Regions from separate parts of the Homo sapiens genome. Here region 1 is linked to region 2. Evidence: promoter capture Hi-C in 16 types of primary human blood cells and fetal thymus (Javierre and others, 2016). All regions are on one chromosome and are shown on one strand. Each heading gives the region's core, a stretch centred on a gene start or on the middle of the fragment in contact. The rest is flanking DNA. Distances are from core to core; before and after follow the strand shown. Region 1 holds the start of CAAP1 (caspase activity and apoptosis inhibitor 1). Region 2 holds the start of SNAPC3 (small nuclear RNA activating complex polypeptide 3).

Region 1 (6,057 bases), core at 1,932-4,431, about 11 Mb before region 2:
GAACTCTTGACCTCAAGTGATCCGCCTGCCTCGGCCTCCCGAAGTGCTAGAATTATAGGTGTGAGCCACCACGCCCAGCCTAGCGTGGGAGTTTTTACCTGTTCCATTTTGGACCTCGGCCAGTTCACCCCCCTTAGACAACCTGGTGGCTTCCACTCCCAAAAGGTCACCATATTAGTGCTGAACTAAGTGCAGACAACTGATCAGTACAGCGCACTACAGCCCAGAATTTCTGGCCTCAAGCAATCCTCCCCAGTTTGCCTCTTGAGTAGCTTGCACTGCAGGCATGCACCACTGTACCAGGCTTTTTTTTTTTTTTTGAGACGGAGTCTTGCTCTGTCGCCCAGGCTGGAGTGCAGTGGTGCGATCTTGGCTCACTGCAAGCTCCACCTCCTGGGTTCACGCCATTCTCTTGCCTCAGCCTCCTGAGTAGCTGGGACTACAGGCGCCTGCCACCACGCCCAGCTAATTTTGTTTTTGTATTTTTAGTAGAGACGGGGTTTCACCGTGTTAGCCAGGATGGTTTCCATCTTCCTCATGATCCACCCGCCTCGGCCTCCTAAAGCACTGGGATTACAGGCGTGAGCCACCATGCCTGGCCCAGACTCTTCTTTTAATAAGGACACCAGTTATATTAGATTAGGGACCCACCCTTATGACTTCATTTAACCTTAATTACCTCCTTAATGACCCTATCTCCAAATTCAGTCACATTGGGGTTAGGGATTCAACATATGAATTCTGTGGGTGATGTTATAGGACCATCAGGTTCTATTAACCACTACATGGTACCAGACCAATACATGGAAACAGCAGGAGTTGCAGCAGAGAAAGAGTTTAATAATGGTATGCCAGCCAAGGGAGAAGATGGGAGGGAACCTCAAATCACCTCCCCAGTAAGTTTTTGGACAGGGGTTTTTAAGGGAATTTTGGTGGGTAGGGGGCTGAGGAGCTAGGGGTTGCTGATTGGTTAGGGCATGGGGGATGTAATCATAAGGAGGTAGAAAGTGCATTCTTGTGCTGAGTTCGTTTCTCAGAAGGGGTCTTCAGACTGAGTAGCATCAGTGACCCCACTGATATGGTTCCAATGACTGGAGGAACACCACAGTCTTTTGTCTCGTGCTGGTTTAAATAAAACGATACAGACACAAGTGGAATTGTTTTAAGGAGCGGAGAATTTAATAGGCAAGAAAGAAGAGGCTCCCTCATACAGAACCAGAGGGAAGAGGGCTCCCAGATGAAAGAGGGAACCTTGGGTGCAGCAGACAAGAGCCAGTTATATTATGAGGCTGGAGGAGGTGGTGACTAATTTGCATATGACCCAGGGAATTGGTTTGACCAGGTATGTCATTCACGTAGCCTGCAAAAAAAGTGGCCCTCCCACCCTAGCCTTTTAATATGCGAATGTAGGGTGCCACAATGTTCTACACATGTGGGGATATGTGGGGATGGCCATGTTGCTAGGCACATGTGGGGACAAGAAGAAGAGGGGAATCGCCATACTGAGTAAACCCAGTTTCTAACGGCCTGCATTTGCATATCATAGCTTGCCAGCCCAGCTTTTTTGCTAGACAAGAAACATTTCTGGAGCTGCTTTAAAAGAAAAAAAACTTCCCAAAGACCCCTTTACCTCTCTATCTGCCTAAAATAATTTCTTAACTTCTGTAACACCATTGGAGTACAGAATCTGGTAAATATCTCAAAATGGAAAACTTGAGATTTCTTAACCGAGTCAAAGATATCTATAAAGCAATAAGCAGCTATAAGGAAGTGGGCTATAGGAAAAGTTGGTTAACGTTTAGCTATGCTTCTACTAAAAGCTTATCTTTTGTCACAAATCCAGCAATTTGGCAGGGCACGATGGCTCACGCCTGTAATCCCAGCACTTTGGGAGGCTGAGGCGGGTGGATCACCTGAGGTCGGGAGTTCGAGACCAGCCTGACCAACATGGAGAAACCCCTTGTCTACTAAAAATACAAAATTAGCCCTGCATGGTGGCGCATGCCTGTAGTCCCAGCTACTCAGGAGGCTGAGGCAGGAGAAATGCTTGAACCCGGGAGGCGGAGGTTGCAGTGAGCCGAGATTGTGCCATTGCACTCCAGCCTGGGCAACGAGAGTGAAACTCCGTCTCAAAAAAAAAAAAAAGAAAAAAGAAAAAATCTAGCAATTTAGTTTTATTAAAATTATGATGGTTTCAGGGACACAATTCATAACAGGTTTATAAATGTAACATGTTATTAATTTTATGTGTTTTTCCTATCTGTGAACACAACACTCTCAATCCTTTCAGGTATGACTCCAATGAGTGTGATACTTAACGGAACTCCTGGGAACACAGTGGGCTCAGCCCCAGGATTTACCTTACAAGGCCAATTTAAGAGTGGGGCCTGGGGGAAGACAGTTTTCCTAGGGCTGGAAGTGTCCCTATTTATTAACCCTAGGCTGGTTTTAGGCATTTAAGTAGTTGTTGAATGACTGAGACAAATAGGAGACAAAGAGAAGGGAAGCTTCTTTAATTGCTTCTTACCCCAGGGAAAGGCACAGAATTACTACCACCCAGCTAGCTTTGCCCCAGGCTCTACCTTTTTCCCTCAGTGGCTAAAGGCCCCTGCTGAAACGACAAAGACCTTGGTTCACGTTTTAAGTGTTCTAGCTCCCTTGTCTTAAAATCTGCCTTCTATTTAGATTACATCCACCCATAAAATCTCATAAAGCTTTGACCCATTCTCAATTTTCAAAAACGAACTCAAGCTCTACTTGTCCATGTCAGACTCTACGCAAGAAATACCTAATTTGCCCAGGTGATGAGGAAAATGAGATGGAACAACTTTTCCCTATTCTCTTTATTGTCATAGCGTTGTTAATATCTTAAGATTTGGAGGTAAACGGAAATGGAGAATCAGCAACTATACTTCAACCTTATTGTAAACAGACAAAACACTAACAATAAAAAGTTTTGAAGTTAAAAGGACGTAAGTTCCACCTTCTATCCTTTGTAGAGATATAAAAACAAAACAAAACAAACTCTGACTAGACAGGCTACCCGCTACACACTCAAATCGACCTCCGCGACCGGAGGGGGAAGCGCAACTGGTTATGGCAACCCCCCTGCCACCCCGGCCCATAACGCTTCACCACGTTCTGTGCCACGGCCGGAAGTGACGCATAACCTGCGACGCCAGTGCCTGCCGCCCACGGCCGCAGGAGTCGGGCTTCGGTCGCACCAGAGACAGCGGACTTTCCTCCGATGGTTGCAGCAGAGGGATCATGACGGGGAAAAAGTCCTCCCGGGAGAAACGGCGCAAACGTAGCAGTCAGGAGGCGGCCGCAGCGCTCGCGGCCCCGGACATCGTACCCGCGTTGGCCAGCGGCAGCAGTGGAAGCACTAGCGGCTGCGGGAGCGCCGGGGGCTGCGGGAGCGTCAGCTGCTGTGGGAACGCCAATTTTAGTGGAAGTGTCACCGGCGGTGGGAGCGGCGGCAGCTGTTGGGGCGGGAGCAGCGTGGAGCGCAGCGAGCGCCGGAAGCGGAGGAGTACCGACTCTTCCAGCGTCTCGGGCTCCTTGCAGCAGGTGCGTGCGCGCCCCTCTGGCCGCTTCCTGGAGCTGCTGCTTTTTCGGAAGAAGTCGGGCTTCCAGAGGGATGGGGCGCAGGCTGGAGCTCACTGCTAGCGCGGCAATCTCAAGGTCGTCCGTCCTTGAGGTTCATGTTCCTACCTAAGTCCTGGTGAGCCCCACACTCCCATCCGTGTCTTGAATCTTGAACTTCAAGTTTCTGGATTTCCTGATCACTTTTTTTTTAATTTATTTTTTAAACTCTTGGCTCCTTCCACTCCTATGGTTTCACTCTGCCGGAAGAATACGAGTTGGAAGCTAGCCTTCATTTCCCTTGCGAGCCAAACACTTCTCCCTTCGTCTTCACCTTTTCGTAGATATGGTTAACTCCGCATTAGAGATAAGAAAATTGAGGCCCAAAGAAGTTAAACTTTACCCACGGTCACAGAGTTTGTTAATAGCTCCTAGGTTTGAATCCAAATATCTGACTACAAAAGCCATGTTCTTTATACGCCACCAGTCTGCCAAGAGAACGCCGTTTTAAAAAAGTTCATAATTTGTTTGAAAACAAATGAATGAATAGGTACTTTAAATTCATTCAATGAGGAAATAAAGGGAAAGCGTCAAGTCCCTTTTCTTGCCCCTCCATTAGTATTTTGATACGCGGCCTCTTTTAATCACTCCTCGTGAGATACGTGTTTTTAAGTTCCTACACTTAAGCTGTATTGTGTTATTCCCGCTGTTGAATACCTGCATTGTTGTGATAGGCTTCTTTATATACGTGGTTTGTTATTTTTACTGACTGCCTGGTATTGTATTATATTTTTCTGATATTTGGGTGTGCAGGTTTTTTTGTATTGTTGTGACTACAATACAAACACCTTTATGTATATATCTCCTACAAGAGTTATGTTGGGAGAGAGTGTGAGAACTGAAATTCCTGGGTCAAAGTTTATGCTATTAAAAACTTATGAATGCCACCAAATGCTTTCCAAATGAGACTTTACAGATTTATAGTCCAAACAGTATATATATAAGAATACCTATTTCTGAGATTCTTAACTAGCTTTTGATGACATTTTGATGGCATTTTTTAAAAAAATTGCCAGACTAGTGGGTCAAATTAATAGTTTGTTTTAATTTTTATTTTCCTTATTAGTGAGATTGAACATTTTAATATTTTTATTTGCCATTTGATTTCTTCTTATGTAATTTTCTGTACATATCCTCTGCTCATTATTCTCTTTGGTAGAGTAGAAACAGTTTATGTAGAGATTTTATCAGGTGGTTTTCTGGCATTCTGTTGAGATGATCACATACTTTTTCTCCTTTAGTCAGATAATGTAATTTGTTGATAAGTTAGTTGATGTTGAACAGTCTTTGGAGTCTTGGGACAAGTGCTGTTTGGTTTGTTGAGTTTGTTGTACTTGGCTGGAATTCAGTATTTTTACTTTCATGTATGTGTTTCTTTTTTTTTGTTTTTTTTGAGACGGAGTCTCGCTCTGTTGCCCAGGCCGGAGTGCAGTGGCGTGATCCCGGCTCACTGCAAGCTCCGCCTCCCGGGTTCAGGCCATTCCCCTGCCTCAGCCTCCCGAGTAGCTGGGACTGCAGGCGCCCGCCACGACGCCCAGCTAATTTTTTGTATTTTCAGTAGAGACGGGGTTTCACCGTGTTAGCCAGGATGGTCTTGATCTCCTGACCTCGTGATCCACCCGTCTCGGCCTCCCAAAGTGCTGGGATTACAGGCGTGAGCCACCGTGCCCGGCCAACTTTTATGTATATGTTTCTAAATTAGATCAGACTGTAGTTTTTATTTTTGTAATGGATTGAATTAGGAAGCTTTGTGTTTTTTTGGTGTGTTCTAGAATGGTTTATATTTTCTTCTCAAATATTTGTCAGAAGTATCTGGGTCTAGTGGAGTTTTTTAGAGTGATTTTTTAAGACACTCTTTAAAAAAATTATTTAATATAGATCTATTCAGTTTTCCCACCCCTTCTAGATTCAGTTTTGGATATTACCATTCTTATTTTAAATAGTTTCCTTTTTTTTTTTCTTTTTTTGAGATAGGCTCTCACTGTGTCGCCCAGGCTGGAGTGCAGTGGCACCATCTCAGCCCACTGCAACCTCCGCCTGCCAGGTTCAAGTAATTGTCCTGGCTCAGTCTCCTGAGTAGCTGGGATTACAGGTGCCCGCCACCATGGCCAGCTAATTTTTGTATTTTTAATAGAGGTAAGGTTTTCACCATGTTGGTCAGGCTGGTTTCCAACTCCTGACCTCAGGTGATCCACTCGTCTCAGCCTCCCAAAGTGCTGGGATTACAGGCGTGAGCCACCGCGCCTGACCAGTTTCCCACTCCGTTATGATGGGGAGACCAACAACACTGGTCAATTGAATATTGAAAACATTTTGCGTACAGAACTAAACCCATCTTCTAATGAAAAATTAGTGTATTTGTGAAGAAAAGGTCATTGCATATTAGGCATGTAGATAACATTTCAAACTTTA
Region 2 (6,270 bases), core at 1,319-3,818:
GAGTTGAAACCAGCCTGGCCAACATGGTGAAACCCGTCTCTACAAAAAATGCAAAAAAGTTAGGCAGCCGAGGGTGCAGGCACCGGTAATCCCAGCTACTCCGGAGGCTGAGGCAGGAGAATCGCTTGAACCCGGAGGCAGAAGTTGCAGTGAGCAGAGATCACGCCACTGCACTCCAGCCTGGGCAACAGAGTGAGACTGCATCTCAAAAAAATAACGTAACATAACATAACATAGAAGTGGTATGTTTCAGATGGGAGAGAGGCCACATGCATCCTGAGCCATCTGAAAGAGAAAGTGGTTGAAAATAAATCTGGAAAGGCAAATTTGGGATATATGTGGAAGGCTTCAAATGTCTAGCTAAGGAGTTTGAAATTTTTCCATATAGGAGATGTAGGGCCATAGACCATTTTTAAGCAAAATGGCTTGCTCAGGCGACAGCATGATGGATAAATCAGTGGGAGAAATGACTGTACTTATCAAAGACACTTAAGAACCTTGCACAGTGCTCCAGGTGTTGCTGCTGTAAAAGTCAGCAGTAGGGACCAGGGGAACAGATTTAGCAGTTATTATGAAAGAAAACCCAAGTAGAGTTGAAATGACTGCCTGAATATTTGAGGGGGATAATAGCGTAGGATCAAGAACGACAGAACATAGCTGAGGTAGTATGAAATAAGTGGACTATAAATTGGAAATTATAAATTTCACTATTACATGCACAATTTCTCTATATTATCATACAACAGTGCCTCTCAAAGAGTGGTAGGCAGACCAGAATTCATCTATGACCTATTTGTTAACCAATCTGTACAGAAAATGACAGTAAGCATTTAGAAACTTCCATTATCATTGAATAATTTTGTCTATTGAATTTAATTAAAAATTTGAACTTATATTGTGTTTGTCTTTTTTAATTCCATTTTTCTAGTAATTCTTTTTATAGTATTTTATCAAAGCATAAATCTGTCAAAGATTAAAAATTTTTAAAAACAAGAACTGTCCTTTACCACAAATAGTTTGAAAAACACTGTCAGAGTATTTAGGTTGCCCCCCAGATCTAAGTAGATTACCTCTATAAACAAACATTCAAAAATATTAAAAAATAAACACAAGTTTGAATATGGACTGAATATTATAGATTATGTATTTACGGTTTTCTTAGGTATAATAATACCACAATAATTATGTAGGAGAATGATACTTTTAGAAGCTATATGCTTATGTATTTACGGGTAAATTATCATGTCTAACTTACTGAATGGGGGATAGCAAAATGAAAAAACACACAGCAGGCATCCCATACACACGGCTAAAGTAAATATGGTCAAATATTAAGAACAGCTGAATTTAAGGGGTGGGTATACAGACAACAATCAATACTGCACTTTCAACTTTTCAAAACATAATGTTGAAAAAATGTTTAAATAAATAGGTCATAAAAACCAAGTCCTCCATACCCCAAAGTCACCAGGTCAGTATTCTCCGGAATGACTTCTGGATCCTCACCGTCCTCAAGGCATTTCAGTTTATCAAGGCTAAAACAAAAAGGAAAAGCAATACTTTAAGGTCGACTCTGCATCTGGTTCACAGCGAGTTAGGGTTGTTTTCCTAAATACATTACTGAATTACGAAGTCAGATAAAATCCAGCAGGCGGCTCAGAGAGGCCAGAACTTAAGACAACGATTTCTGTGATTATATTTTATAATGAAAAGGCCGATGAAGGCAGCCAGTACTGTTAAATGGAGAAAGAGATTAAAGTTATTTTTATATTTTCATCCCCAAATAAGGCACTTTTAAGAAATATTTCAGTAACAGAATACCCGGAAGGTCCCCAAAAGAAACCAGTTAGTCGGGGTTTTAACACTCCTCTGATGAAGTCTCCCGCAGCTTCACCATTACTCAGGTTCCTCCATTGTCAAAGTGTCTGTCAATGGCAGGTACACGTCGCTGTTGCCCTGATTGCTTTTCTTTATTAACAAGCACTCTTAGAATAAGCAAATGGAAAAACTAGTCTTTGATGCAGCTGTCTTGTCCCTTTGCTCCAACTCGTAGAAACTGTGCATTCGGGTCCCAGGACTTCTCCTGGTGTCCCAGGAAGGCTCCAGCGGGTTGAAAGCTTTAAAGGGTAATACTCCTAGCCCAGGTCTAAACCACAGGCCCTTCTCAGGGATGAGTCCCAGAGGAGCGCACGAGCAAGGCTGCACCCTGTTTGACCCCAAGCTGCAAGAGCCCCTTTGCTCCGCACTCACCCGCACACCGCCCTCAGCTCAGCCGCCGCCTCCAGGCTGCAGTCCAGATCCCTGGCCACCGCGGCATCCTCCCGGTCGGAGTCAGCTGCCTGGCTCCCAGGCAGAGCGGATGCCGGCGGCTCCCTCAGCGACAAGTCCCCGGCCCCGCGCAGACGGCCCCGCCACAGCTCCCCAAAGGCGCCCACATGGAAAGCGCGCGTATTTAGCTCGGGAAGCTCATACTCTGGAAAGTTGCAGCCGCCACTGCCGGAGACTGGGTCCTGCCTGCCACCCACCCCGCTACACGTAGGGCCACCTCGGCTTCCTTCAGCCATGTTCGCCCCACTCCTTCCCCTGCAAAAGCCTGCAGATCAAGGCCTCGCAGAGCGTGATGGAAGTTGTAGTTGCTTGGGGCGCCCGGCCGGCGAGCGGCGAGGCGGCGCGGGCAGGGCATCAGAAACTACATTTCCCGGCAGGCCATGGGCAGGCCCGCCCCAGGGCGCGGCACCGCGAGGCTCTACGTGCAGGGCGCAGCATTGTTCTCCGACCCGGGCGGTGCGGGAACCGTTGCGGCTGTCGGTTAACCGCAGCGGGTGGGGCTGGGTTTCTGGTCCCCGAGTTACGTAGCAACTGTCTCTGCCCGGTAGGGCGGCCTCGCCAGGCGCTTAGGCCCCGTTCCTTGCGGCTTTCGGACTAAGGGGTGCAGGGCTTTTTCTTGACTGGGGTTCAAGGACTGCTCTGCTGCCTGATTGCTTTAGAGCCTAAGAAACAAGGAGGGCGAGGGCCGAGACCAGGGACACGACCAGCCCTCCAGATCTGGTTCTTTCACAAGCTCCGCAGAGGCCCCATGTTGGTGTGCGTGTGCAGTAGTGTTTCAGAGCGTCTGTGTATCACACGCTACATGATTAACCCTAATGTATGTTTTTAATGTTTTTAAAAATTACAACAACCTTTCCGGATAGGGCGTATCACCCCGTGTTGCTGTTGAGGAAGGATTTACCTGCGGGGAAAATAGAAGCAGGATCGGAACTCAGTCTGGCTTCAGATGGAGCTCTCTCCATTTCTCAGAGGCCCTGAAGGATACAGCAGGACATACTATTTATTTATTAGACTGTAATCACATGCCATATAATTCACCCATTTGAAGTGTTCAGTGATTTTTGGTATATTCACAGGCTTGGGCAACCATCACCACTATTTGAGAGCATTTTTACCACTCGAAAGAAGAAACTTGTACTTTTTAGCTATCACCCCTGATCCTCCCAACTCCTCCAGCCCTAGCCAACCAAGAACCTACTTTGTCTCTCTAGATTTAACTAATCTGGACATTTAATATAAACGGAATTATATGGTCTTTTGGTGGCTGGCTTAATGTTTACAAGGTTTGTTACAGGTAGTTAGGCATGAGCAGGGCAGGAGAGGGCTCTTCCCTCACCCACTAGGAATGTGGGGTGATGCTTAGGCATTTATCACATTGCCTCTAAAAGTGATAAATTGGCAGCCGGTGCCAGGGAGAGGCCATTTCCTGATGGCCCACACCTGTTGCACTAAAGTGCTCGTTGAATGCAGGTGACAGGGAGAAGCAACTTCCTGGGCATATGCATTAAGAGACAAAATCGGGGAGTATGACCTTTCAGGGGGACTCTATCGGAAAAGGGAAGAAAGCCTCAGATGGGCACGCATACAACTTCATACATATTGCGCTGTGCTCACTTCCCAAGGGTAAGGAGGGCACTGCGCATGGAGGCAGCCCACCCTAAGGGAAGAATCATGGGAAAGGAGCCAGCCTGTAAAGTCCTAGGATCGAGGTCAATATCACAGTTGACCTCAGTGACAGCTTGGGACTCTTCCGAGCGTGCTTTCCTTTCTTTCCTAAAGGCCTTTTAAATAAGCTTCCACTCCTGCTCTGAAACTTGCCTCAGTCTCTTTTTGTGCCTTATTGCCCCTCGGTCAAATTCTTTCTTCTGAGGAGGCAAGAACTGAAGTTGCTGCAGACCCATACAGATTTGCCCTGGTAACTTGGATACCTGCCACCTGTAACACGTTCATCCATTTTGTAGTATGTGTCAGTACTTCATTCCTTTTTTGGCTGAATAATATTGCATTGTATGTATATGCCACATTTTATTTATCAAAAAGTTTTTACCTTTTGGCGTTGCTATGAACATTCATGTACACATTTTTGTGCAAATACGTTTTCATTTCTCTTGGGCATGTGCCCAGTAGTATACAGTCAGCCCTCCCTATCTGTGGGTTCTGCATCCTCCAATTCAACCAACCACATATCAAAAATTACAGTATTCCCAGGTTGCAGAACCTGAGGATAAGAGGAATTTTCCTATGGGCGGATTCCACAGGGCTGACTGCAAGAAGAGCATCTGTCAATTTTGGAGTCCACAGGGGTCTTCGAAACAGTCCACCCTGCAGATACCAAGGGATTTCTGTATTTATGGAACTCTATTTTCAACTATTTGAGGAACTGCCAGATTTTTTTAAAGTGGCTGTCCCATTTTACTCCCCTCCCCAGCAGGATTCTCCACATCCTTGCCAACACTTATCTGAACTTTTTATTATAACCGTGTCAGTGAGTGTGAAATGGTGTTTCATGACTTTTTATTTGCATCTCCCTAATTATATTGATGGAACACGTTTTCATGTGCTTATTGACCATTTGCATATTTCTTTGGGGAAATGTATATTCAAGTTCTTTACCAATTTTTAAATAAAGTTATTGTGTTTCCATAGGAGCTCTGGTTTTTTTTTTCTTTCTTTTTTTTTTTTTTTTTTTTTGTTTTGAGACAGAGTTTCCCTCTTATTGCCCAGGCTGGAGTGCAATGGTGCGATCTTGGCTCACCGCAACCTCTACCTCCTGGGTTGGAGCGATTCTCCTGTCTCACCCTCCTGAGTAGCTGGGATTACAGGTGCATTCCACCACACCTGACTAATTTTTTTGTATTTTTAGTAGAGATGGGATTTCATCATATTGGTCAGGCTGGTCTAGAACTCCTGACCTCAGGTGATCCGCCCACCTCTGCCTCCCAAAGTGCTGGGATTACAGGCGTGAGCCACTGCGCCCGGCCTTCTGGTTGTTTTGTTGTTGTTTGTTTGTTTGAGATAGTGTCTTGCTTTGTCACCCAGACTGGAGTGCACTGGCACAATCAAGGCTCACCGCAGCGTGTCAGGCCTCTGAGCCCAAGCTTAGCCATTATATCCCCTGTGACCTGCACATATACATCTAGATGGCCTGAAGCAACTGAAGAACCACAAAAGATGACATTCCACCATTGTGATCTGTTCCTGCCCCACCCTAACTGATCAATTGACCGTATGACAATACACCCTCCCCGCCCTTGCGATAACGTACTTTGTAATATTCTCCCTGCCCTTGAGAATGTACGTTGTGAGATCCACCCCCTGCCCACAAAAAAATTGCTCCTAACTCCACCGCTTATCCCAAACGTATAAGAACTAATGATAGGCTGGGTGCCGTGGCTCACGCCTATAATCCCAGCACTTTGGGAGGCCGAGGCAGGAGGATCACAAGATCAGGAGTTCGAGACCAGCCTGGCCAATATGGTGAAACCCCTTCTCTACTAAAAATACAAAAATTAGCTGGGCGTGGTGGCAGGTGCCTGTAGTTCCAGCTACTTGGGAGGCTGAGGCAGGAGAATCGCTTGAACCTGGGAGGCAGAGGTTGCAGTGAGCTGAGATTGCGCCATTGCACTGTAGCCTGGGCGACAAAGTGAGACTCCGTCTCAAAAAAAAAAAAAAGAAAAAACTAATGATAATTCCATACCCTTTGCTGACTCTCTTTTCAGACTCAGCCCGCCTGCACCCAGCTTTATTGCTCACACAAAGCCTGTTTGGTAGTCTCTTCACACTGACGCGTGTGACACAGCGTAGACCTCCCAGGCTCAGGTGATCCTCCCATCTTAATCTCCTGAGTAGCTGGGACTACAGGTACGCTGTCATCACATCCAGTTAATTTTTTTATTTTTTTAGAGAAGAGGTTTCACCATGTTGCCCAGGCTGGTCTTGAAC

The links. The method cuts DNA at HindIII sites, captures the fragments that hold promoters and counts their contacts. A CHiCAGO score of 5 or more calls a contact.
Region 1: a contact is called between the fragment with the promoter of CAAP1 here and the fragment with the promoter of SNAPC3 in region 2, in 1 of 17 cell types (non-activated CD4 T cells). The highest score is 5.2, in non-activated CD4 T cells.

What each region holds. Positions count from the first base shown.
Region 1 is chr9:26,889,926-26,895,982 of GRCh38, reverse strand. CAAP1 (caspase activity and apoptosis inhibitor 1) reads left to right here and starts at 3,181. Exons shown (of 6, transcript NM_024828.4): 1 at 3,181-3,570. The coding sequence starts at 3,268. It also overlaps the pseudogene RN7SL100P. RefSeq lists enhancers at 2,952-3,021, 2,623-3,202, 3,152-3,371, 3,452-3,631, 3,203-3,782. The HindIII fragment of the contact is 2,677 bases long and covers 2,717-5,393 here.
Region 2 is chr9:15,419,174-15,425,443 of GRCh38, reverse strand. SNAPC3 (small nuclear RNA activating complex polypeptide 3) reads right to left here and starts at 2,568. Exons shown (of 9, transcript NM_001039697.2): 1 at 2,251-2,568; 2 at 1,458-1,535. The coding sequence starts at 2,564. RefSeq lists enhancers at 2,092-2,211, 6,022-6,270 and a silencer at 2,552-2,841. The HindIII fragment of the contact is 2,004 bases long and covers 2,120-4,123 here.